Regions from separate parts of the Homo sapiens genome. Here all the other regions are linked to region 7. The links are contacts of gene promoters, found by promoter capture Hi-C in blood cells and fetal thymus (Javierre and others, 2016). All regions are on one chromosome and are shown on one strand. Each heading gives the region's core, a stretch centred on a gene start or on the middle of the fragment in contact. The rest is flanking DNA. Distances are from core to core; before and after follow the strand shown.

Region 1 (3,368 bases), core at 744-3,243, 200 kb before region 7:
CAGCATGATGGTTTGGGAGGTTGGCTTTTTTCCTGTTTTTATTACCACAGTCTTTAAACTGAATGGAGTATGGGCTTTTAAAGGGTGGAGAATATATGTTCTAATCTACCTATAAATGGGCTATAATAGTCCAATAATTTTAGGATAATGACAAAAATACTGCAAGACTTATTACAACTTCTAATAATGCCTAATTATCACTGGAGAGTCATTTAAGTAACAGTCCTGCTCATAATATAGTCCAATGAAACCTACAGCAATAAAAACACATTCAGCCATCTAATGAATGTATAATCTACAGCCAATTCCTAATTATCCATAATTATTGGAGCCATGAATAGCCAGGTGTGAAGAAGCACTGCCATGTGTTAGGTACTTAAGATAAATTATAGTTTTTAATCTTTAGAAAAATCTAAGGAAGTCGGCATTATTTCCATTAACGTATAAGAAAATAGAAGCCTGAGGAGGTTAATTTTCAGGCTTAAGGTTAAGGTAGGTTCCAGAGGTATGATTTAAACTCAGGTCTATTTGAAGTCAAAGCTAATGTGCTAACTGCCACTACTTTCTAATCAAAATGTAATTCAACACCACCATATTGGTCAATATATATAATGTCCCTCTTCCAAAGTTTATGAGTCTTCATATTTCTCCCAGTTGTGGTTCATTTTCCCTTTTCCTTAATCCTCCTCTAAAATTGTCAAAAGAACAGCAGGCAAAAGTAGAAGAATGAGCAGCAAAATGCTAGATAAACAATTAGCAACTAAATCATGAATGGAATTTTTAGCATATGCAAATAATATCTATTTGTTTAAAAGAGAGTAATTCACTCCCAAATGTAACCATTGTGCTGAAACAGATCTCACAAAGGGAAAAGCTGCAGAAAAATGAAAAACAATCCCAATTTTTGTTTTAAGAATGACCTACTTCTGGCCTCCAGGCCCTGTTGGGGAATGGTATTGGCCCTTCCTTTCCCCTTATCCCCAGAGTTCTTGTTTAATGAAAAAAAGTCTTGGATCAATTTCCCTCTGGGTTTGTGTTATCATCTGAAATCCCAGCTTTGGTACAGTGGGCTTGAATCATTCTTGGTGTATTAGGCTATTCTCACACTGCTATAAAGAAATACGAGTCTCAAAAAAAAAAAAAGAAAAGAAAAGAAAAGAAAAGAAAAAAGAAATACCTGAGACTGGGTAATTTATAAAGAAAAGAAGTTTAATTGGTTCACAGTTCCAAAGGCTGTACAGGGAGCATGATGCTGGCATTTGTTGGTTACCAGGGAGGTATCAGGAAACTTACAATCATGGCTGAAGGCAAAGAGGAATGGGCACATCTTACATGGCTGGAATAGGAGGAAGAGAAACAGGGGGCAGGGGCTACACACTTTTGAACAACCAAATCTCGTGAGAACTCTACGATGAGCACAGCACTGAAGGGGGAAATTTGCCCCCATGATCCCATCACTTTCCACCAGGCCCCATCTCCAACACTGGGGATTGCAATTTGACATGAGATTTGGGTGGGGACATAAATCCAAACCATATCACTTGTACTGTTCAGAGCTGGAACCAACCAAACCAAATCTTAGGGTTGCTCATGAGGAGAAAAATACAACACAATCTTTGACAATGGTGGCCCTAGATGGTTATGTGAGTACACAGTAAATTCTGGTCACTTTCCAATCAATTACCTCTGTGTGTGTGTGTGTGTGTGTGTGTGTGTGTGTGTGTGTAAAATAATTAAAATACTCTATTAACGTCACAGGCTGAATTTAAAATACTTTCACATATGAAACATCTGGATAATGTTTAATGTATGCCTAGTATTCCCATTTTTATCCATGTCCAATAGGTCAAAGTAAACGAACATTTTGTAATCACTACTGCAGCTGGTCACAACGTATCTATTCTCATATCCAGTCTCATTTTCCTTGCCTTCCTGCCACCCACACACAATTTACATTCACCCACTTATAGATCCAAGGCTGGCCAAGCCTAGAATTAATTTCTAGCCAGCAAAAAGATGATCATTTATGTCCTGTGGTAAGTGTTACATCTTTTGAAAAGTCTCCTTGGTACGGCTACTCCAGATCTCTCATCCTACTGCTCACCCTATCACTGACTGTTTGTTCTGTTCTGTGCTCCCTCTCTTGCTTGCCCTACAGTCACCTGTTTTCAGACGTCTGGCTGACCTCTTCTAGTATTGGCTCAGCCATTAATTAGCTGTGTGACCATAGGCAAGGTATTTACCTGTCTCCATCTTGTCTGTAACCTTAATGTAAAACTAGACCTTCATCAAATTGATTGAGGAATTTAATGCGATATGATGGGGGGCCACCTATTACAATGTTGGCATTATAATATATGGCCACTGTTAGAATTAAATGAGTAATAATACAAATAATATTTAGCTAATATTGAGCACTAAAAATTGTATACACATTATCTCATGGAATCCTCACAACACTAAGAGGCATGTGTTATCATTACTGCATTTAACAGTATAAGAAAAATCTTAGAAAAGTAATTTGCTTAAAGTTATATAGTAAGAAAGTGGCAGGGCTCTGGGTCTTCAATATTATTTTCAGTAATCTGGTTTCAACAATTGACAAAAGGTACTGTGAGGTGCCACATCAGTCAATATTTTTAAAGAATGATATCTCTCACAAAGACTATGGCTATTATTAAGATAATACTATACTTTTGAATAGAACTGTAGTGCTTAACAAGTTTAAAGGCCGAGATTTCCAAAAATTCAGTGAGAACTATAAAGCCTCTCCCAAGGAAAATACATGCATAACCTTACATGCATAAACTTGCAAATAATTTCAGGGCTTCAAGGACCCTTGGAAGTATATCCTAGACCTCTCTAGAAGTCCATGGTGCCCAGGTAAGGACTACTACAAAACAGCAAGAATTCACAGCCCTCTTGTTTTCTAGTAAGTTGAGCCTGGAACCCCCAAACAACCTATTTCTTCTTAACCCATATCTAGTTAGTCACACATTTCAATAATTTCACCAGTTCCTTACTATTCCCAGTGAGGCTGCTCCCTTTAAACACTCTTTACTTAATGTCCGAGTTGTTGCAGTGGTTTTTTAACTGATCTTTTAGGCTTTAGTCTTTCCCTCTTTAACAAATCCAGGTTATTACCACTACTCAGTTTAAAGCAACAAATCCTCATTGAATAGCTACTATTTTTTATATACATGCTTTTTGCTGCAGTCACAGAGAGGAAACATGCCTAGCTCTTCACCTCAAGTAGCTTATGGGTCAGAGGGGAAGATAAACAATTCATTTTAATATAACTGCTATGCAGAAATAAACACAAGGTACTAGAACTTTCCCAATGGGGAGAAGGGAAGATGCTTGTATGA
Region 2 (3,599 bases), core at 72-2,571, 260 kb after region 7:
AACCGCCATCTGCAGTCCTTGATATACATAATGTTTGATTTCAATAAGCAACTTTCAATAGATTATAAATTCTGTAAGAACAGAGGCCATGCATTTCTCATGTCTTTTTTTGCATCCACAAAAGCCAATGAAATAATATTAGACATAATTCCTGCTTCAGTGAGTGTTTAGTCTCCAGGAAACATCAAATCTTCGCTATCTTCCATCTATATTAGCAGATTTGCAGTAATATTGTATATTGCACAATTTTACTGTTGATTTAGGAAAAGTGGCTTTAGGTCTATTCATCTGCTCATTTTCCCTCTCAGTGGATCCCCACATGATGCTTGTCTTCTTTCACTCAAACTCAGTTGGCAAAAGAAGGGGAACTAAAATAGCGTAATTTTCTTATACTTTGAGTAAAATATGTTCTTATGCTTCAACTTTGTCAGCTCTATTTGCAGCCAAGCACTGACTCCTATTTTTAAAATGTGAGTAGATAGTACTACTAGGGATAAATCAGAGTTGTCCTTTCGGGACCTTGGGAAGATTTTTTTTTTTTTCCCAAGAGTGAGAAATTGTGAAGAATTAGGAAGGAAGGACACCAAGAGAAGTGGTGGCTGAGTGTGTCACATGTGTCAGGAGTCCTCCAGCAAAAGGAAGAGAGAGCTACGTCACAGGCTAAAGCAGGAAGGATTTTAGTCCTTAAGCTTTAGTGTGTGAACAAATCATCTTGAGGTGTGTGAAAAGTCAGATTCCTGGGCCCTACGCCCACTGAATCTGATGTAAGGGATGGCGCCCAGAATCCAGATTTGTAAAAAATTATCACAGGGAATTCTGTTGTAGATGATTTGAAGGCCATACTATGAGAAACACTGGTTTAAGAGGTATGAAGAAAGGGAGAGAAGAAAGAAATTTGAATAGGAAGTGAATAGACTGATAAGTAAAAATGCTGGCATGAGTGTGTGAGTGCAGAGGCAGATGGTTGATAATTGTGGCAGCCATCATAAGGCAAAAAGAAATCGTATTCTGAGCACAAGTGCTGGGTCAGGGTTTAGAGAGAACTACAGAAACTAGAGATGACAAGGAAATAAAATGTGAGGGTAAACTGAAAATGAGCTTGTGCAGAGAATGTCCAAAGTTCTCCTTCTCTCCCTGACTTAAGTGGCCAGGTTATGTGCTGAGGTCATCACTCAGCAAAACCAATCCAATGTAATGACCATGGTGGCCATTCATGCAGAGGACATCATTGCTCTGCAGAGATAAAAGCACATTTTCCTTCTGTAGGTCATTAACAACACCCAATCTCTTGTAAGTGACTAGTCATAAAAGGACCAGAGCGTGATCTAGGGGATGGAAAACATTTGAAAAAATCCCATCTCCTCAAACCAGGGAGAAATAGATGTCCCTCCTTCATTGCTCTTAATTTTGTTTAAGTTTGTTTTGTGACGTGGAGAACAAATGCTTTTCAAAAGCACTTTGAGAAGAATTACCCTCCTTCTAGATTAGATCTGGAAACACCCATCAAAGCTACTTCGGTTTATCTCAATTGCCTCAATTGTACATTCAGAAAGAGCTCATAAGACAGGAAAGGTTATCTGGTGTGTGATAAACAGCAATTGCCTAAGGCTTCAATTGCCAGATCAAGACTGACTTAAATTTTCACAATTAAATAAAGCAAAAAAGTAAACTGGTGGCAGAATTCTTTTAAAGAATAGATTCTTTCCATTCAAAAATATCCCGGGAAGTTAGTTCAGTGACTGCTATTATGTGTTACAAATCCAGTGAGGGGACAAAGAACAGGCTGAGAGGGAGCAAGTGAAAGTCAACATCCCTGAACTGTCAGATATTCCAGACTGTAGTTCAGCTGCTAAGATATATCTTCAATTACCAACCAAGTCTGAGAAAAAAAAGAAAAATCCAATTTAATTCAACTCCTCACAGTGGAAGTGAACTTCGGCCCCCAACTTCAAAGAAAGCTTTGAAAGCTACTTTAAAAAGAAATAATTAAAAGAGCAGAAGATCAATAACACTCAAACAAACAATACAGGGAAGAGTTTAATAACTCTGGGTTATCTGATGTACAGAGAAAGCTGCCAAATTTGAAGTGGGGGTGGGTGAAAGACAATACAGCCTGAGGGTCTCCCTGCTCAATTAGGTGATTGCTCCAGTTTTCCACTTCTATGATTTTTAAATCCAAGCATCCTTATCAATGAAGAAGAACATTTCGTAACATAAGGATATTTTATTTGTAAGTCGGTTGAGATACTGCCTCATTCTGGGTCAAAGGATTTCCTGGGTGATAACAGCAGAGTTCATTATGAGAGAAATGACTGAAAGGGAAGTCTACACCCTGGCCTCCACCTGCCCCCGGTGTAAGAACTGATGTTCGTGCCGAAATAATAAAATACTGGACTCCCTCTTATTGCCTTCCATAAACTCTTCACAAATGAACTTACTACTTTCTATCATAGTCCACAAAAGCCCACAGGCCACAAAAGCAAAGTTTGTCTTTTGATGTCCTCAGTGTCCTTTTTCCTTTATTCTTTTACCTTTGAAATGAGGGGAGTCACGCATTCCAGAAACACAGAGTGGAGAAAGTGCATGCAAATGATACCAGATGTGACTCATAGAAATACACCATGATAGAGCTGGTAGGGAATTGAAGTAATTTAGTGTAGGGTTGCTTTCAGGGGCCTGGTTGACATAATATCAGAGTGAAGTTGACATAATATCAGAGGGAAGCACGAGAGAGTGTAGGGGCCTATGGCAATAAAAAAAGCCTATATTGTCCTTAAAGTACTAGAAATCAGTATTTTTGTAAAGCACCATACATGCCAAACAAACATGTTTTCTCACCAAATTCAGTTCGTGGTCAGCCCTTGATTTAGGTCTTCCCCCTATTTTTGCAGACATGAAAAACTGAAGATCAGGATATTAAAATTAGTCATCTGGAGTCCCACATTTACCTACCAGCCAACTTCAGACTGCAAACAGGACATTCTTTCCCTAACCCTGAAAGTTGTGTGCAAACCTTATTTGAAGGATGATAATGTTGGAAAATAGTGAGAAATGAGTTCAGAAATGGAAGTTGAGTTAAGATTATGGAAAGCCTTATCTGACAAGCTAGGATTTGTAGGCAAGAAGAAATTTCCGACATGTTTTCAGTAGTGAGTCCTGGGGTAAAAGCTGTGTTTTAGGAAGGTTGTATGGTAACGTTTGTTGTTTATATTGGAGGAGAGAATGTTGCAGGCAAGAAGATTCAAGAGAAAATAATTACAGTTTAAGTAGGAAGACATGAGAACCTGGACATTGAAAATGAAGGGACAGATTCTCAAAGGGAAAACTGCTAGGATAAGGTGACTAACTGAATTGAGACACAAAAGAGAAAGAAAATCAGGAATGACTTCACAATCCCCAAAGAGAAAATTATATGAAGATTAAATCACTATACTAGTGATTGTTCTCACTTGACTGGGCTAGAAATATTTATGTATGGTTAAAAGTTAATTCTAGGCCAGTAGTGGTGGCTCAAGCCTGTAATCCCAGCACTTTGGGAGGCTGAGGTGGGTGGATCATCTGAGGTCAGGAGTTTAAGACCAGCCTGGCCAACACGGTGA
Region 3 (3,611 bases), core at 515-3,014, 250 kb before region 7:
TCCTATACTTAGAATGCCTTAACTGTCTGGGAATGCAGCCCCATGGGTCGCAGCCTCATTTTACCCAGCTCCTGTTCTAGACGGAGTTGCTCTGGTTCACACACCTCTGACATTATGAGAATGTCAAAAGATAAAATAAAAATCATATTTCCATATGGGACTGTCAATGAACCATGAAAGGCTTGATGAACTGATTTCCAGAGAAAGGTGCCCATTATAAGTAAGCAGTGAGATCTGGCAGGTCTGGATGCAGGACGAGCAGAAGAATGGTCAAGACCCAGGACTTTACTGGGTGGAAATGAAGCCATCTGAGCTATTGGCAACAGTGGAGATCGTGGGCTACATTACGGTCTGAAAGACTACCAAGCACAGTAATAGTTTGCTCAACGCAGTCATTCTCTCCACCTTATCCCAAGTTTGCTGAAAACAATGAAATTGAAGTAAGAACTGATAAGCAGACAGAAATCATTCAATCTGCTGCATCTCCCATATTCTCCCCATACCTGAAATTTAAAAATTCAAAGATATTGCAAGGAATCCCAAATAAAATCCTGATAAGCTCCATGAGACTAGCCCTTCCTTGGAAAACTGAATGTTGGCGATTGGGTTAACAAGAGGGAAGCTTCATCTCAGTCCCAGATAAATAAACCCTTGGTGAAATCTGAACAATCAACTCCCACTTTAGCCAACAGATGAAAAAATAACTTGAAATTTCTTGGCAAAAAGAAAATAAAAACCCAGTGTTAATCCTCTAACCCTATTTTTCTTCTATACTTAATTTCTACTATGCAATAACAAATTACGAGACCTACGTAGAGGCAGAAATAGGACTCACGCGCAAGGGAAAAAAATCACCAAAAGCAAACCACAGATGATCCAGATACTGGAATTAGCAGAAAATAATTTAAAAGATCTATCTTCAATAGGAAAATATGAGAATAGGTGGATAGGTGGGTAATCTCAGCAGAGAATAAAATAAAATAAGTAAGAAAAATTAGTTAAAAATTATATATCTGTAAACTACAATATGTAAAAAAAAAAAATAGATGAACTATACAGAAAAATCACAAAATAATCAAATGGTTAGTGACCTTGAAGACAGGTCAGGAGAACTTATCCAAAGTAAAGCATAGAAAAAAAGGCATAAACAAACTGTTAAATACATAACAAACTGTTAAAGACATAACAAACTGTTAAATCAAGCAGTCAAATATACCTGTAATTGGAAGAACAGAAGGATAGGAGAGGGAATAAGTCAGAGTACAAAAGATCTTGGAGAAACAATGACTGAAAAGTTTCCTTATATGTTTGAAAATACATACATCTACAAATCCAGGAAGGTCGCTGAATCTCCAATGGAGTAAATTTATGCAAAATGCACATAAGCATATAATTGTCAAACTGAAATCCAAAGGGAAAGAAAAAATTCTAACGGGTACCACAGTAAAGAATGCATCATGTAAGAGGGAGTAACAATCTCATTAACCCAACGCATTGACATTTTAAAGTGCTAAAAGAAAACAACTAAAAAACGATTATCAACTTAGAATCCTACATCCAGCAAAAATCGCCTTCAAAACTAAAGGTAAAATACATACTTTTTCAGATAAATGAATAAATAATAAATCAAAGCTGAGAGAATTTGTTGCCATCATATCTGCACTATAAGAAATGTCAAAACTTCTTCAATCTGAAGAGAAATGATACCAGTAGGAAATTCAGATCTGCAAAAATAATTGAAGAATGCCAAAAATGGTAAATAACAAGGTGAATATGCAAGCATTTTTTCTCCTAATTTGTTTGAAAGACACTTCACTATTTAAAATGAAACATTTATATTGTGAGGTTAATAATATATGAAAAAGTAAAATGCTTAAGAGCATTAAAAAACATGAAATGGGAATAAATAGAATTATAATTTGATGAGTGTCCTCTATGATATGTGAGGTGGAGTATATTAATTCAGTATAGAATATGGTAGGTTAAATGTGCATACTTTAGTCCCTAAAGCAAAGCAACTACTTAAAAATAAAATGAAGAAGTATAATAAAAATCTAACAGGTTATATAAAATAGAATGCTAACTTAATACTACTTTAAACTAATACTAGATTAAAAGGAGGCAGGAAAGTAAGATCAAGGAAACAAAAGAAGAACAAAAAATTAAAAATATAAATAAGATGTTAAACTTCAAGTAAATCATATCAATAATTGCATTAAATGTAAAATGACTACACATTCTGAAGAAAAAGCAATATTGTCAGAGGCGAAAAAAGTCAGCATACTAACAGTATACTGTACACCCTCTACAGAAATTGCATTTTAAACGCAACATGGATAGGTTGAAAGCAAACTCCTAATCATAAGAGACCTGGTTCGGCTATATGAATAGCCAACAAAGTAAACTTCAAAACAAGTAGTACCAAAGATAAAGAGATATTTCATAATGATAAATGGAATTCGTTAAAAAAATACATAATATTTCTAAGTGTGCATGCTACTTATAATAGAGCTTAAAAGTAAGCAAAGCAAAACTTTACAGAAACAAAAAAATAAGCGAATCTACAGAAGACATTAACATTTCTGCAAGTAGAAATAGACAAATTCATAGTTATAGTAGGAAATTGTATTACGAATAACCAGGGGTTTGCTCTAGGTCCCATTGCTCGCCACACAGAAAACCAATCACTGAGACAATGAGTATTGTCAGAGAAGAAGATTTTATTTGGGTGATGTCAGCTGGAGAGGTGGGAGGCAAACCCTAAATCCACTCTTCACTCTCCCACTCTCCCCCTTTCTCCACGCCCATTCAAGGGTTTATATAGCTGGGAAGGACAACAGAAGGGACAAGGAAAAGAAGTTGGTCAACAGACAGCAGGTGCATTTCATTATACAAATGTAAGTTTCTCAAGCTTCAGTTCTATAGACACCTGGCTTGTTGGAAAATTGGACTGACTTCAATTTCAGCATTCCTCTGTCAATAATTAATAGAACAATCATTTAACATGGAAATAATATGACCAGATTTGCTTTTTTTCCCCTCTGGTGGCATTGTCAAAAAGATATTGAAGAATGGAGAGACAGAGAAAAGGTTTACAAATTAGCAGCCATAACAATAATCTAGTGAAACAAGATGATGGCCTTAATTAATGCAGAAACTGGTCGGGGGGAGTAGAATGAAGCTAATAAACTGGAGATATATTTGGTGTTTGAAAATAATAGAAACTGGTCACTTAGATGTCTGATACAAGGGAGAGGTGGCAATAGGAAGACATCTAAAATTTTTAAGGGTTCTTGCTAGGAGACTGCATGGATGCTTTTTATTAAAAACATTGTGAAGAAGAAGAAGCACATCTGAGAGGAAAGGCAATGAGCTCTCTTTTGGACACTTTTGAAATGTCTGTGAGACATTGTTAAAAATGTCTACAGGGCAATTCAATATGTGAGTATGACATCAGGAAAGAGGTCAGGTTAGAGATAATTGCAGTGGTTGTAGTCACTGAAATGGTAGGAATACTCCAGTGAGGATAGAAAGAAGACCAAATGCAGAACCCTTGACCTCTGACATAAACAGTGCAGACAGCAGAAGAAGAAACTGCAATGAAGAAAAGA
Region 4 (3,725 bases), core at 1,002-3,501, 220 kb after region 7:
TTCCTCCAAGACACTCATTGAGAAACTAGACAGCATCTGAGCATTGTAGGAACAAACACTGAAGTAAATGGATTCTAAATCCCTTTGAGTTCTAAAATGCTGTAGAGATCTGAGAAGCCCACAACCTTATAACAGCAGGCAACATAGATTACGCTTAAAAAGCAACATACTTTCAATTGATTGATAAACCCTTTTGTTGTTCATTTATTGCAAATAGGTTTTAGAGCTCAATTCACACTTTTGTGAATAAACATTGAAAATATTTGATTCAATGGTTATATTTCTGCCTGACATGAGGAAATTATAGAATCTATTAACCTTAACAATTTAATTAGCATGTCCCAGACTTAATCACTCACTATCTGGGTAGAATTGGCCCAATTAGTTAACCACTCTAAACCACAGTTTCCTCATCTGTAAAATGGGATGGAAAATAATAACAACTCATAGGGTTGTTAAGAGGAATACATAAATTATTCATGTGCCCTGTATGGCACACAATAAGTCCTTATTAAATGAACCGGTTGTAGAACTGTATTAAGAACAAGTAGTAGTAGCTTCCATATTTAGAGAGCCATCAATTCTGTTTTCCAACAGCTCCATTAGTGAGAATTGTGCTGTGTGTTTTCCCCCCACCCCGCCCCACTACAACTGCATTGCTATATGCAAGGATATAACTTCTGTCTCTAAAACTATTCAAATAGTGAGCCTGGGAAAAACAAACTTAGGTCAAAAGAGTTTGACTAAACTGGCTGAGAACATTTAAGTTGGATAAAAATAGATGTATTTTGTTTGTATAAATAGATTTTGGTCATGAGAAAGAAATAAAGAGGTTCCTCTCAAAAGAAAGCCTGGTTTAGCAGTCAGTAAACATTGGGAAGAGTCAGCAGTTGACTTCCCCACTGTGTGGAAGAAACTGCCAAAAGCCCATCCAGAATTAGGTGTGTGGGAGGGAAGAACAAAGGAGAGGCAAACAAGAAGCTGTCACTATTCACCACTTTCACCTTGAATAACCTTTAATTGAAAAATAAAGTTGCCAAAACAAGGAGTAAAAGAAAAACTACCATTTTATTCCCTCCTTGAGATTGAATTAGAGGGAAACATACTGACCACAGTAATCCCAAGGTTGGACTCACATGATGGCAAATGTCACTTAGTTCTAAAGCTCTAATTAGAAACAGGGCTGAAGTTTTAGCCAGCTCCTGCTACTAGAAATAAAACATGAGGCAACAGCAACCCAAGCCCTGGACACCCCCTGACAGTGAACTCTGAGGTGCTTTCTGAGTGAGTTGAGTATAAAGCTGACAGAGCCTAGAGAATTCATACTTGAGCAAATATTGGGAAAGAATAAACTGGGTCAGTTACCACCTGTTTCTAGATTTTATTTTTTTCTAGACTTCAACTAAGATTGTCTTTCACATTAATAAGAAGAACGATGAACATAATCTATTTCATCCAACTTCTACATTCCAGGCACAGTATCAACCACTTTATTACATTTTATCTTCTGTAATATTCACAGTGTTATTGGGTAGATTAAACAACTTGCCCAAGTTCACACAACTGGTGACTGGCAGAAATGGGATTTGAACTTATTTGATGCCAGAGGAGGTGTATCCTTTAATATTTTAGAATAACTTATTTATTTCATTATATTTTATGAACCTTGAAATATGTTTATTGTAAAAAAAAAACGCAGAAAATACAGACAGGCTAAGTAAAATGTGTCTTTACATTAAAGTATTTAATTTGCAAAAGAACAGTTGTTATTTTAAAATCCTACCCCACAGTTTTTCATATTTCTCTTTCTATGTAGGGTTAATCTCATCAGGAATTTCTCTTATCCATCCACAGTTTGTAGGACAATTCTTTGCACATAATGGGCACTCAAATGTACGCAGATCATATTAGTCCAAGAAAAAGCTGCTTGTTGGGGCTACCAAGCCAGCATGGTAACACCTTACAATCACCCTTTCTACCTGCAGTCACATTGTTCCCAGAGTGGGGTGGTGATACTTGCCAGCTAGCCCAAGTTTCTGGATATAGACCTTTAACAACTTCACAAGTACCCTTAGAAAATTCGGTTAAGACCGAACATGGACATGCTTGCTCCATTTTTTTCCACTCTCAAAATATCCTTGAGCAGTAACTCATTCATAGATAAGAAAAACTTTTTCTCTTCAGTTTTTTCTTTTCTTTTTGAATATTCTTTGATTTTAGCAGAAATAGGCACAGTAAAAGAATAAATATAAGAGACGAAGAATAAAATTTATGAAATTTAGAAAGCTCATGTTAGAGAATTGTACTCTTTAGGTAGATCCTTATTTAAAGAATAATTAGAGGAAAGAAAACAAAAGATGAAAGAGTACAAATGAGATTCCTGAGCAGTTTTTTATTTTGATTGATAAACTTTTAAAATGTGTTTGAATTACAATATTTATATATCAGGAATATGAAAGGTTTAATCATAAAAATTACATAATATTTCTTCCAACATTTTCATCTTGTCCATTTCTTCATATCTATAGTGGAGAATTATCCCTCTGTAGGCAAGAAGAAGTCTTTATTCTCTTCGGAAGCTGCTCCTCTTGCACTCCAAAATATAGTTCTGATGGAAGCTGCCAATCACTTTATCCCATTCCCAGAACAGGCATGGTACCAGACTGAGGTCAATCCTATACTCCACCTTATTTGCCATGGAAAATAGCCTAGCGATACTTGCATGACTCAGGGCAGTTGGAGTAGTTTGATGGAATTTTTTAAACCACAGCTGACAGGAAGTAGCTCTGTTCCTTATTAGTTGCAAATGCTGCAAGCATATGACCCTAGAGTTATCTGTTGCCAGTTGTTGCCTTGTGGAGATCATAGGCTTAAGATGATGAAGGCAGCAATCAGCAATAAGCAGAGGTGTGCTTGTGTGTGTGTGTGTGTGTGTGTGTGTGTGTGTGTCAGAATGAGAGAGAGAGAAAAATTACTGCTTCTGAAACCAAATCCATTTCCAAGGTGTGGTTTTAGAAGCAAATAAATTGCCAATTTCAGAGCTGATTCAAGTTGAATTTTTGTCCTGTAACCAAAAGAGTCCTGACTAACAGCCAAAACTCAGGCTGTCAAGTAAACATAATCTGTAAGAATCCGCTTTCCAGCCTCCATTCCCCTTGACATCTTCCTGAAAGAAGATTTGTATAGGAAATGCTGACGTCTCTTTGGCAACTGCATAAAAATTATTGTATTCAACAAATTTATTATATGTCTCTTTGTGGCCAGGCAGCTTGCTTGGCACTGGAAATTGGCTAGGGAGATTGGGGCAAGAAAAATACCTCTCTCCATGGTGGAGGCATACATAAAAGCCGATTGCTACACAACTGCGTAAGAAGTGCTTTAATCAAAGCCTGAATAAAGTGTTGTGGAAACTCAAAGGAGCAAGCAAAATGCTTCACATGAAAGTTGGACATTCGAGTCAAAGACTCACAGGATTTTCCCAAGCAGAAAAGAAAGGAGAGGACATCATGGACAGAGGAAATAGCATGGTGCAAAGGCATGGTATGAAAAAAATACACGACAAATTTGTGGAATAACAGAACTTTTGATGTGATCACAGCATAATGTGGAGTTGGGTAACAGTGAGGGATTAGGCTAACCAGCTTGGCAGAATACTGACTAAAAATTCTTAAATGCTGTGCTAAGTTGTTAGAATTTTATCTTACAGGTTTTGAGAAGCCATCTGC
Region 5 (3,483 bases), core at 565-3,064, 230 kb before region 7:
TAGCCAAAATTTAAGTCAATCTGATTCCCCAAAATGGTATCTTCAATTATAAACACAAAACATAAGCTTTGCATCCTTATCAGCATGATTCAGTGAAACTAAACAGCCCTGTTTGCCTTGAAAAGAATGTTAATGTATAAGTCTATCACAAAAAAAAAACAGTCAAAAATAGTTTTTCCTTTATGCTGTAAAAACTGTGCTGTAATTGCCGTAAGGCAAGCCTCTTATCAAGTCATTTGAAATCTCCCAGATCACGATGTATACTTTCTGTTTGACAATAAACTAAGTTTTTCCTAACTTGATCTGATTTTGTATTTGACAACTTCAATTTGATAACCCACTGCTGAACAGTATTTCCAGGATGCATCAGAGTCCTAGATCTTATGGGAAATGTAAAGACGATAAGATCCCCTTATGATGCAGTTAAAAAGAAGATATTATTCATTCTTGTCTCATTGTGGTATGAGCAGCTCAAAAAATAACTATTATGAAATAGAGGGAAGTGTTAGAAGAAGTAAAGTTGACAACACCTTGGATGACTTATTTGGAAAGGAAACATTTAAGTTAGGTCTTGAACCCAAATTAGAGTTTTTTCAGACAAATTTTGCAGAACGGGAAAGAAAAGCATCCCAAGGCAGAGGAAGCAGCTTAAACAGTCATCCAACGTGGGAGATTGGGGGTGTGTTGTATACCAAGCACAGATGAGTGAAGATGAGGTCTAGAAATGTGGGATAAAATTATAGAAGGCTTTGAATATTGGCTAAAGAGTCTTGCTTTTATTCTTCATACAATAAGTAATCATCATCTTTATCATTTATTTACATTCTTTCATATGGATTTTTTTTTGAGACATGATGTCACTCTATTGCTCAGACTAGAGTGCAGTGGTACAAACACGGCTCATTGCAGCCTCAACTTACCAGGATCAAGCAATCCTCTCACCTCAGATTCCCAAACAGCTGGGACTATACATGTGAAACACCACACCTGCATAATTTTGGGGGTTTTTCTGGTAGAGACGAGGTCTCACTATGTTGTACAGGATGGTTTCAAATTCCCCGACTCAAGCAATCCTCTCGCCTAGGCCTCCCAAAATGCTGGGATTACAGGCGTGAGCAACCATGCCTGGCCTCATATAGATTTTTAATGCAATCTTTTCTAATTAAATTTGTTTTCATTAAATTTTGTACTCTGGTGGCTTTTTTTCTATCACTGATTATTAGATCATTTTGAGTATAGCAAAAAAATATATATACATATATACATATATGTATATATGTATATGTATATGATAAGATGAGAGACGCAATATACCTCATTTCAGTTGTTCTCAAAGTGTGGTTCCCAAACCAGTAGCACAAGCATCTCCTAGAAACTTTTTAGAAATGCAGATTCTTAGGACACATCCCAGACATGCCAAATGAGAAATGTGGGGATTGGGGAATAGCAATCTGTGGGTTTTTTTTTTTTTTTTTTTTTTGATGGAGTCTTGTTCTGTGGCCCAGGCTGGAGTGCAGTGGTGCCATCTCCAGTCTCTGCAACCTCCGCCTCCCGGATTCAAGCAATTCTCCCTGCCTCAGCCTCCCGAGTAGCTGGGATTACAGGTGCCCACCACCATGCCTGGCTAAATTTTGTATTTTTTAGTAGAGACAGGGTTTTGCCATGTTGCAAGCCCTCCAAGTGACTCTGATACACAGCAAAGGGTGAGAATTACTGGCTTAGTGATTGGAGATGAGATCTTGAGACACAGAACCAGAGTTCAACGACCAATTCTGCCATTTGTCCTGAAGCAAAGTTCCTTAGCTTTGTGGAAAATCAATCTCCTCATTTTATAAAGGGTGACAGAGAGGTGAGGTTTATGTAAGACACTGTATATATTACTCAGAAATGGTAAGTCTCTCTAAATATTAGCTATTGTTAATTGCTAAAAAGTTAGCTTATTACAGAAAATTTGCTCTGTAATAACCAATGCACATCAAATGATTCAAATCTAATATGTGAATATAATCTAACAGAAAATCTGTTTTGGTCTCCACAGATGCCAGTTGAGAACTTGCTCAGATCAGCTTTTCTTCTGTAGTTTTCTGTGGAGCACTAAGCACATGATTTTAAATATCATTGGCAAAGCAATGTCTTCATTCCTCGCAAAATTTTTTATATTAGTCAAAAATTTGTTCAAGATAAATATTTTTAAAAGATGCCACTTCATTTCCACCACACACACACACACACACACACACACACACAGAGAGAGAGAGAGACAGACAGAGAGAGAGACAGAAATGAGAAGGTAAATGTTGCCTTTTTCTTATGGAAAGAATTTCAACCAAGAGACCTGTATGGGGGTAGACAGCAAAGCATCCCATTAGTGGGGCTTTCTATGTTCTGTTCTTTCTTCTCTTTGATGCAGATACATTATTATTATGGATCTGAGTGATTTTCATAGGCAAATACACTGAAATATCATTCATGATCTTCTTTCACAGAATTAGGCAAATTTAATAAGTATTCCAGAACTTTGTTTTACCATGTCCAGAACTAGGATAACATACACTACATGCTAATATATTTAAAACATGTATAAAGAATATAATTGTATTACTTATATGAATACTAGCTATCTAGTTCCTATAGCCTAACACCATAAGGTGTATTTGTTGCTGGAATCCTTGGTCAGTGGTGCTGACACAGGGGATAGAATGGATGTCATCCATGCAAACATTCAGGGACCATGGCTAGTGCAGCCTCTGCCATCTTCCATACAGGGCTTCCATGATCACCCTTAAAATGCTGAAATCCAGCTAATGGAATGGACAAAAGAAAAAGAAGAGTAGGCAAATTCTCTTCCTAACTACTATAACCAGAAGTAACAAATATCATTTCTGTTTATACTTCATTGGTGAGAACTGGTCAAGCAGTCCACCAGGTTCAAGGGAGATGGGAAATGCAGTCTCTGGCTGGATACTGGGTCAGTATTCACATGGTGTGTTTCCAAATTATCACAGGCAAAAATTTTACCAGATAGCTCCACAACTAAATAAGATTTCCTGCCTTCTAACCTGCTATTTCTTTGTTTTTGTTCTTGTTATGGCTCTCCAACTTCAAATTATGCCACATATTTTGCATTGTGTATAGAAGCCCCTATTGAAAATACCAAATTACCATCCACTACTGTCACCAAAACAGCCCCCAAAATAGCAATGAAAATATAACTTTCTCAGATTAAAGTCCAATGCAGGTATGACTGATTCGTTTTAGCCAAAGCTGCATAGGGGCTTTGTGACACACAAAACTAGTAAAATTCTGTCATCTTCTAACTATGGCTTACAGGGTCACCTTGAGCACTGGCATCAAGCTGGTACCAGAGAAGGGAACAATTAGGGAGGCACACTTGTTTCTTAATCATTTGGGCTCACAAGTGATACATTCATCTCTACTACATTCCATTGATGAGAACCAATTATAAAGTTCCACTTGCGTAAA
Region 6 (3,487 bases), core at 596-3,095, 220 kb before region 7:
GACCTGCACGTCCACATACAGATGGCCGGTTCCTGCCTTAACTGATGACATTCCACCACAAAAGAAATGAAAATGGCCTGTTTCTGCCTTAACTGATAGCATTACCTTGTGAAATTCCTTCTCCTGGCTCATCCTGGCTCAAAAGCTCCCCTACTGAGCACCTTGTGACCCCTACTCCTGCCTGCCAGAGAACAACCCCCTCTTTTCCTTTACCTACCCAAATCCTATAAAACGGCCCCACCCCTATCTACCTTCACTGACTCTCTTTTCGGACTCAGCCCACCTGCACCCAGGTGAAATAAACAGCTTTATTGCTCACACAAATCCTGTTTAGTGGTCTCTTCACACAGACACGAGTGAAAGAATGTACTTTTGTTTTTTGTAAAATAACTGCTTATAGACAATAAAAACTCAAAAGACATTATTTCAAAGATGTGTCTTTGAGGAGAAGCCCAAGGTTTGCCAAGATAGAACTTTGGAATAAAGACTTGAAATAGGATTAGTCCAACCAATCCTTCATTTTATAGGTGAGGGCATTGAAGCTCCAGAGAATTGATGTGACAAGCCAAAAATTATAATGTTGGACAGTGAAAAATATGTCATCTTTTAATTCCTTTACATCATCAGGGTGGTCACTTGAGGAATCAAAAGGAGAAAGAAACTAGATTATTGACATTTAGAATTTTAGGCTTCAGATTTAGAGATTATCATATGAGGAACCATGACAATAAGGGGAGGAAGGAATCACAAAATTAAGTGCTCTTGCAAGCAAACAAATTAAGTAGGTCCACACTTCTACCATATGCTTGTAATCAGACTCAGGCCAATCCATGGCTCAGGGGGTTGGTCCTTCATAGAGTATGCTTCAATGGTATAAGGCTACAAAATGAGGAAGTATCTTATTTCCAGAGGTCCAAGGCACAGACTTTTAATGAAACCTGCCTAAAGTTTTCTCTGTACCTTTGAAGGTTTCCATGTCATCATTACCCAATTCAGGAGATTTTATAAGCCTCTCCAAAGAAAGAAATTATTCCTTTTCTCAGGTCTTTGGCTTTTCAGTTGTACTGCGTGATGTGGCAGACTCTGAGATGAAGCAGGGATCCCTCCTACGGGCCTGCCACCCCCAAGGCATGGAAATAAAGGAAAATTTTGAGTTCCTTCCAGGGAAATTCCAGGCACCAACCTAGCCCTGAGAAGTAAATGAGCAACCTGATAAGCAAGAATGCTGTAATAGCTGAAAACAATAGCCAAGGAAGCTAGAGCCACAGAGTTTGCTTCTCTATAGAAATTAAAGGTAAAGTCTTCACATATGTCCCTGAGTTGTTTTTCAGAGACCTGGACCCCTCACCACATGGAAAAGCCATCTGCTGGCACATAGATCTCAGATAGGGTGGAACAGAGGACTAAATTCTGTCATTCTTTGTTCTAAATTTCTTCCTGAGGGTCCTGAAGGAAATTATGCTCACAGGCCAGAGCTCAACTCTCCTTTCAGCTGACCCACACTTTTAGACAAAGCCAAACCAATCACAAATCAGAAAATATTTGCATCCACCTGTGATCTGTGGGCCATGCCACCCTCCCCACTCACCTGATTTGAGATGTCCCACCTTTTTAGGCCAAACCAACGTATAGCCTCCATGTACTGATTTATAGCTTTGCCTGTAACCTCTGCCTCCCTGCCTTTAAAAACTCTTACAGTTAAGCCACTGGGTATTTCAGATCTTAAGCATGAGCTGCCTGATTTTCCTTGCTTGCCACCCTGCGATAAATGCCTCACTTTTTCTTCTTGCAAATCCCAATGTCATTGTTTGGCCTTGCTGTGCCAGGCAGGCAGACCCAAGTTCAGTCTGGTAACAACTCCTCTAGAATACGCCATGAATTATAGCTATGTGAAGTCAATAAAACCCAAAGTTTCCAAAAGAAATACTACTATTTTAATAATTATTTTGCCTCCATGAGGAATACAAATATTTCCTATATATGATGTACTGGACTTTTACAAGGGGTATTGACAGTAATTTTATCCCATATTGATTATGGACTGTTGTGAATCCTACAGATTTCATACAGTTTAGCAAAGAAAATTATTTCATACTTATTTTCCTTCATAAATAGATGTATGTTTTGTAAATGTATTCCATATACTTGTAACCTTTATGATGCAAACTTGTAATAACTACTGAGTTACTTACAACTGAAGGAAAAAATTAAATGTTTTAATTTTGGAAGTAGTTCGGCAAATGTATTTCCAGAACATGGTAGAAAATGGGGTTTTTATCTTGAATCCACACAATGAGCTTATGGAAGACACTCCCATTTTTAAGCCAAATGGAAGAAGAACATGAAATCAGAAAAATAAATTACCCAACTTCTGTATAATGCTTTCAGGATCCTCAGTCGGGAACTCGTGGCAGACTTTTAGCAAATCTTATTAAGGAAAACAAATACATTAGGAACACACTGTAAGAATATGTACTTAAAGTGAAACTTGGGTAGTGATCTTATTACATCATCTCAATTATTGAACCCCTCTTATTTTCTTCTTCTGCTTTATTAATGTCATCAGTTATTACCATTTGAAATTACCTTGTTTTTGTATTTGTTCACTGGTTTACTGCTACCAGTAAAATGTCAGCTCCAGGAAGACAAGGACCTTGTCAGATTTGCTCACTAATACATCCCTTGTGCTTAGAAAACTACCTGGAACATAGTGGAAGCTCAATTAAAATTTGTAGAATGAATGAATGAATCCCCAGAGCATGACATTTAATGCATGAAAGAGGATCAGAAGAATTCAGCCAACCCAAGAGAAACAGGAATCTGGACCACAGCTGAATAAAACTACTATCCTCTTAACTCATTATTCTCTCCTTCCTGAAACAAAGACTTATATTTTTAAAACAGATATGTTGTGAGGAATTTATGCCACAAATGCATATTACTAACATATAGATTAGTATTTACTGTGTTATATCTAAGTATGCTCAAATTGAAAGTAGAGTAATGAACATTGCTTTCAATTATGTTATGATTTTTAAGCAATCACAATTCATTCTAAAGTTGGCTTCATAATGTCTTGAGTATTGCTGTAGGTTTTGCTGTAGATGGATACCTAGATTTTGAAAATTAAAATAGAAGGTGGAGGGCAGCAGAATATGCCACCCCAAAAGATGCCACTTTAGCATAAGGGTTATTTTGAGCTAAAGGCAACTGAGAAGAAGTAGATACAGGAAAAGTTATTTGCCTTGCCTAAACAATTTGCCTAAAAACAGAATACAAATTCACAAAGTTATCCCTCCTCCTCTCTCTACCAAGTAGGACAGAATTTGATCACTGAAGATGACTTAAGACCCTTATCATCCTGGAGATATCACCACAGGAATCTACATAACAAATTTTACAAAATAGCCTTTATCTACCATATATTTGCCTTCCTACAATTTACTGCCCTTATAAATCCAAGGTCCTTTTCCTTTGTCATTTCTTC
Region 7 (3,384 bases), core at 374-2,873:
ATTACAGGCTAATATATTGTGAGCTTTTATTATATTTTATTAATTTCCAGGTGGTATTCCAAAATATTTTCTATTTCAAATTAGTATGGATACTCCAAGCACCCACGGACAATCTTAAGAAGGCCCTAGATCATACTTTAGTAAACATAATATAGTAGAAATGTTGGAGGCTCATGACTACCTAAATTCTACGTCATGGAAGAGCACTTCTTTCTACCCATATTTGAAACTAAAAACCACTTTGATGTATGCTGTTCATTATGCATAGCTGCAGAATTCAAAATTCATTGACTAAGAGAGAAGAAAATTATTCATTTACAGTTAAATTCCTATGGTTTATTTTTTATGCAGAGTTAAAATGAAAAATTCTAATTTTGTTTTTATTGGCATTGTTCCAGGATTTACAAAATGAGTGGGAGACTCGTCCCTCATAAGGGATCTTGGGACAACAAAGTGCCAGAATCAGCTTAGAAAAGGAGCTGTGCCACTTAGGGTGAGTGAGACAGGAGGAAATTTTTTGCAAACTGGGTATGCATATTTGCATTTGCTGAGTTCTATGTCCGTATTAAATGCAAGAACAATTATTCCTGGAGGTCACCTTAGAGATCTGGCTTTCTTCACTCACAGCCATAATTTTTTGTTTCCCCAAAATATGTTGATCTCTAAGAAAAAAATTTTTTCCAACAATAAATAGTTCTTTCTTGATAGTAATGAAATTCAGTGAAGCAATTTCAAACTAAAGAATATTATTTGGCCCAAAGAACTGAGGGGCAAAGCTACCAAGCACATTGTGTTAAATCCAGGCCTAACCAATTATTTTTAATTCTCTGCTATAACAATTAAGTGTATTTTTTTAATGCTTAAAGAAAAATATCTCTGTGTTTCATTCTAGGCTCCTTCATGAACAACTCAAACTATCTGGTCAATAAGCTTCACACTTACCTCAAAGGCCTTCTGTATTTTTACAAAGTCACCCACGCTGAGTTGGTTTTCAAGCAGGCCTGTGCCATAGTCTTCAAATGCAGTTACACCTTCTGTTCTCTCAGGACTCTTTGGCCCAAGCTGTGACCCTATGTTTAACTCAAGTACAGCTTTCTGGCAACTCATAATGGCTTCACCTTTTCTCAGTTGCCTTCAACTATTTCTATAAGGATGGATCTTCTTTTTCCTTCAACAGGTGCCTTTGAAAAGAAACTCAACTTAGCAACAGAATTCCAAAATGAAAGTACAAACCTTTCAAGGCATACGATCAGGAGGCAAAATGTTCAAGCTGAGGTAGGAAATGAAAGCCCTCAACCCTCTCACTTATTTGATTCTAGAGTTTATTTTCAAAATTTACAGTTGAATGCTTTTAAAATGGTATTTTTACCCCTTCCTTATACTCTGTTTAACCTGGCTTGATTAAAAATGTGTAAAGCTTTCCCCACATTTATAGTAACTGACACAGAAAACAACTTCCAATCCTCATTTTAAATGCATTAGAAAAGCACCTTCCCAAAAATCTCTTTAACTAACCTTGCTTCCATTAACATGTTGTAGTTTTCAATTCCACTTTCTTGTCTGGAAGAGTTAGATGACAAAGCTGCAGAGTTTCCCTACCAATGAAGTACTTGACTCTGAATGCCACCTTCCCAGCAATGTGGAGTTGTTTGTTTCATCTGTTCTGATCCTTTTGTATGTTTCCTGGCAACCAACACAAAGCCAACTAAAACTTTCCCTTTCACTTCCCCCTCTCCAACTGAAAGTTTAAATATATAATGTAAATGTTGAAATGGTTTTTTTTGAAATAAAAGGACAGTTCATTCCACTCATTTTTTATTAAACGACATCTTGTATTATTTAAAGACAACTTTTACCATTATATAGGATATATATTATGAAACTATATGATTAGTCAAAGAGAAAAGCATGAAATTCTGGAATTTTATGTTTTATACACAGAAAATGTTTTATTTTTATATAAAAGGAATCTGTTTCTTATATTCTTTTTGTCTTAGTTTCTATGTATATAAAATAGAGATGGTTCAAAAAAGCTTCCAACTTGTTGAAAATGTGATAAAAAAACACAGCATAACATAATATGATAAATCTAATGATAAAATTGCTTGCAGTGTCATTACTGGTTCAGCTAATAATAATGAAAAGGAGGAGAAAAAGAAGAAAAATTAACATTTTTTGAGTATTAACCATGTGCCAGGCACTAAAACTTTATGTTCATTGTCTTGTTTAAGCTTCACAACAATCCTACAAGGCAGATGTGATCATTATCCCCATTTTACTGATAAAGAAGCAAAAAGCCGGGCAAGGTGGCTCACGCCTGTAATCCCTGCACTTTGGGAGGCTGAGGCAGGTGGATGGCTTCAGCTCAGGAGTTCGAGAGCAGCCTGGGCAACATGACGAGACATTGTATCTAGTAAAAATACAAAAATAATCAGCCGAGCATGGTGGCGCACACCTGTGATCCCAGCTACTCGGGAGGCTGAGTTAGAAGGATCCCTTGAACCTGGGGGGCAGAGGTTGCAGTGAGCCAAGATTGTGCCACTGCACTCCAGCCTGGGCAACAGAATGAGACCCTGTCTCAAAAAAGAAAAAAAAAAAAAGCAAAGAAAATGCCAAAGGTCACACAAATAGTAACATACGGAAGAGAACAGAATGGCTCCCAAACTTCAGATACTGCATGTATTAGTCTGTTTTCACACTGCTAATGAAGACATACCTGAGACTGGGTAATTTATAAAGGAAAGAGGTTTAATTGACTCATAATTTCACATGGCTGGGGAGGCCTCAAAATCATGACAGAAAGCTAATGAGGGCAAAGTCATGACTTACATGGCAGTAGGCAAGACAGCATGTGCAGGGTAACTCCCATTTATAAAACCATCAGATCTCATGAGACTTATTCACTACCAGGAGAACAGTATGGGGAAACCGCCCCCTTGAGTCAATTATCTCCACCTGGCCACGCCCTTGTCATGTGAGGATTATTACAATTCAAGGTGAGATTTGGGTGGGGACACTGCCCAACTGTATCACTGCACTTTAGATGGATGTGCCCGTTGCACTTTATTTTCACTTCTGTAAACTAAAAAGTTGGCATTACATCTTCTCTAGGGTCTCTTCCGGCTCTAACATTCTCTGAGCTGGTGTTCACTAGAGGCATGGTACAGAACAGAGAGAAGAGCATCCTGTAGGAGTTCCTGTACCCATTATAGAAAAAAATGAAGTTTCATTCATGCTTTCATTTTTTCATCCATCTCTCATTATTCTTTCAAAAAAAACATTTATTAAGAGCCTAATAGGCAGGGCACGGTGGCTCATGCCTGTAATTCCATATTTTGGGAAGCCAAGACAGGCAGATCACTTGAGGTCAGGAGTTCAAGACCA

Evidence for each region. Contacts are between HindIII fragments. The CHiCAGO score rates a contact against its expected background, and 5 or more counts as called.
Region 1: a fragment that was not itself captured here is called in contact with the fragment with the promoter of WDR49 in region 7 in 4 of 17 cell types (M2 macrophages, M1 macrophages, monocytes and 1 more); the score reaches 6.6 in M2 macrophages.
Region 2: a contact is called between a fragment that was not itself captured here and the fragment with the promoter of WDR49 in region 7, in 1 of 17 cell types (total B cells). The highest score is 6.6, in total B cells.
Region 3: a fragment that was not itself captured here is called in contact with the fragment with the promoter of WDR49 in region 7 in 6 of 17 cell types (M2 macrophages, monocytes, M1 macrophages and 3 more); the score reaches 17.5 in M2 macrophages.
Region 4: a contact is called between a fragment that was not itself captured here and the fragment with the promoter of WDR49 in region 7, in 1 of 17 cell types (naive B cells). The highest score is 5.5, in naive B cells.
Region 5: a fragment that was not itself captured here is called in contact with the fragment with the promoter of WDR49 in region 7 in 4 of 17 cell types (M2 macrophages, M1 macrophages, monocytes and 1 more); the score reaches 9.3 in M2 macrophages.
Region 6: a contact is called between a fragment that was not itself captured here and the fragment with the promoter of WDR49 in region 7, in 1 of 17 cell types (M2 macrophages). The highest score is 6.5, in M2 macrophages.

What each region holds. Positions count from the first base shown.
Region 1 is chr3:167,454,464-167,457,831 of GRCh38, forward strand. The region is part of intron 5 of SERPINI2 (serpin family I member 2); the gene reads right to left. Among named protein-coding and RNA genes, the nearest start is that of SERPINI2, 18 kb to the right of the region's middle. The HindIII fragment of the contact is 8,519 bases long and covers 1-3,368 here.
Region 2 is chr3:167,907,780-167,911,378 of GRCh38, forward strand. It overlaps the pseudogene LRRC77P. Among named protein-coding and RNA genes, the nearest start is that of SERPINI1, 170 kb to the left of the region's middle. The HindIII fragment of the contact is 1,269 bases long and covers 688-1,956 here.
Region 3 is chr3:167,401,755-167,405,365 of GRCh38, forward strand. All of the region lies in intron 3 of LINC01327 (long intergenic non-protein coding RNA 1327), which reads left to right. It also overlaps a transcript of ZBBX not described here. Among named protein-coding and RNA genes, the nearest start is that of LINC01327, 11 kb to the left of the region's middle. The HindIII fragment of the contact is 2,289 bases long and covers 621-2,909 here.
Region 4 is chr3:167,873,967-167,877,691 of GRCh38, forward strand. No RefSeq gene overlaps it. Among named protein-coding and RNA genes, the nearest start is that of SERPINI1, 140 kb to the left of the region's middle. The HindIII fragment of the contact is 7,563 bases long and covers 1-3,725 here.
Region 5 is chr3:167,418,736-167,422,218 of GRCh38, forward strand. No RefSeq gene overlaps it. Among named protein-coding and RNA genes, the nearest start is that of LINC01327, 28 kb to the left of the region's middle. The HindIII fragment of the contact is 3,500 bases long and covers 65-3,483 here.
Region 6 is chr3:167,436,771-167,440,257 of GRCh38, forward strand. No RefSeq gene overlaps it. Among named protein-coding and RNA genes, the nearest start is that of SERPINI2, 36 kb to the right of the region's middle. The HindIII fragment of the contact is 8,061 bases long and covers 1-3,487 here.
Region 7 is chr3:167,652,319-167,655,702 of GRCh38, forward strand. It overlaps WDR49 (WD repeat domain 49), which reads right to left and starts at 1,624. Exons shown (of 19, transcript NM_001366157.1): 1 at 1,516-1,624; 2 at 943-1,181. The coding sequence starts at 1,107. RefSeq lists enhancers at 838-1,361, 1,362-1,884. The HindIII fragment of the contact is 616 bases long and covers 1,416-2,031 here.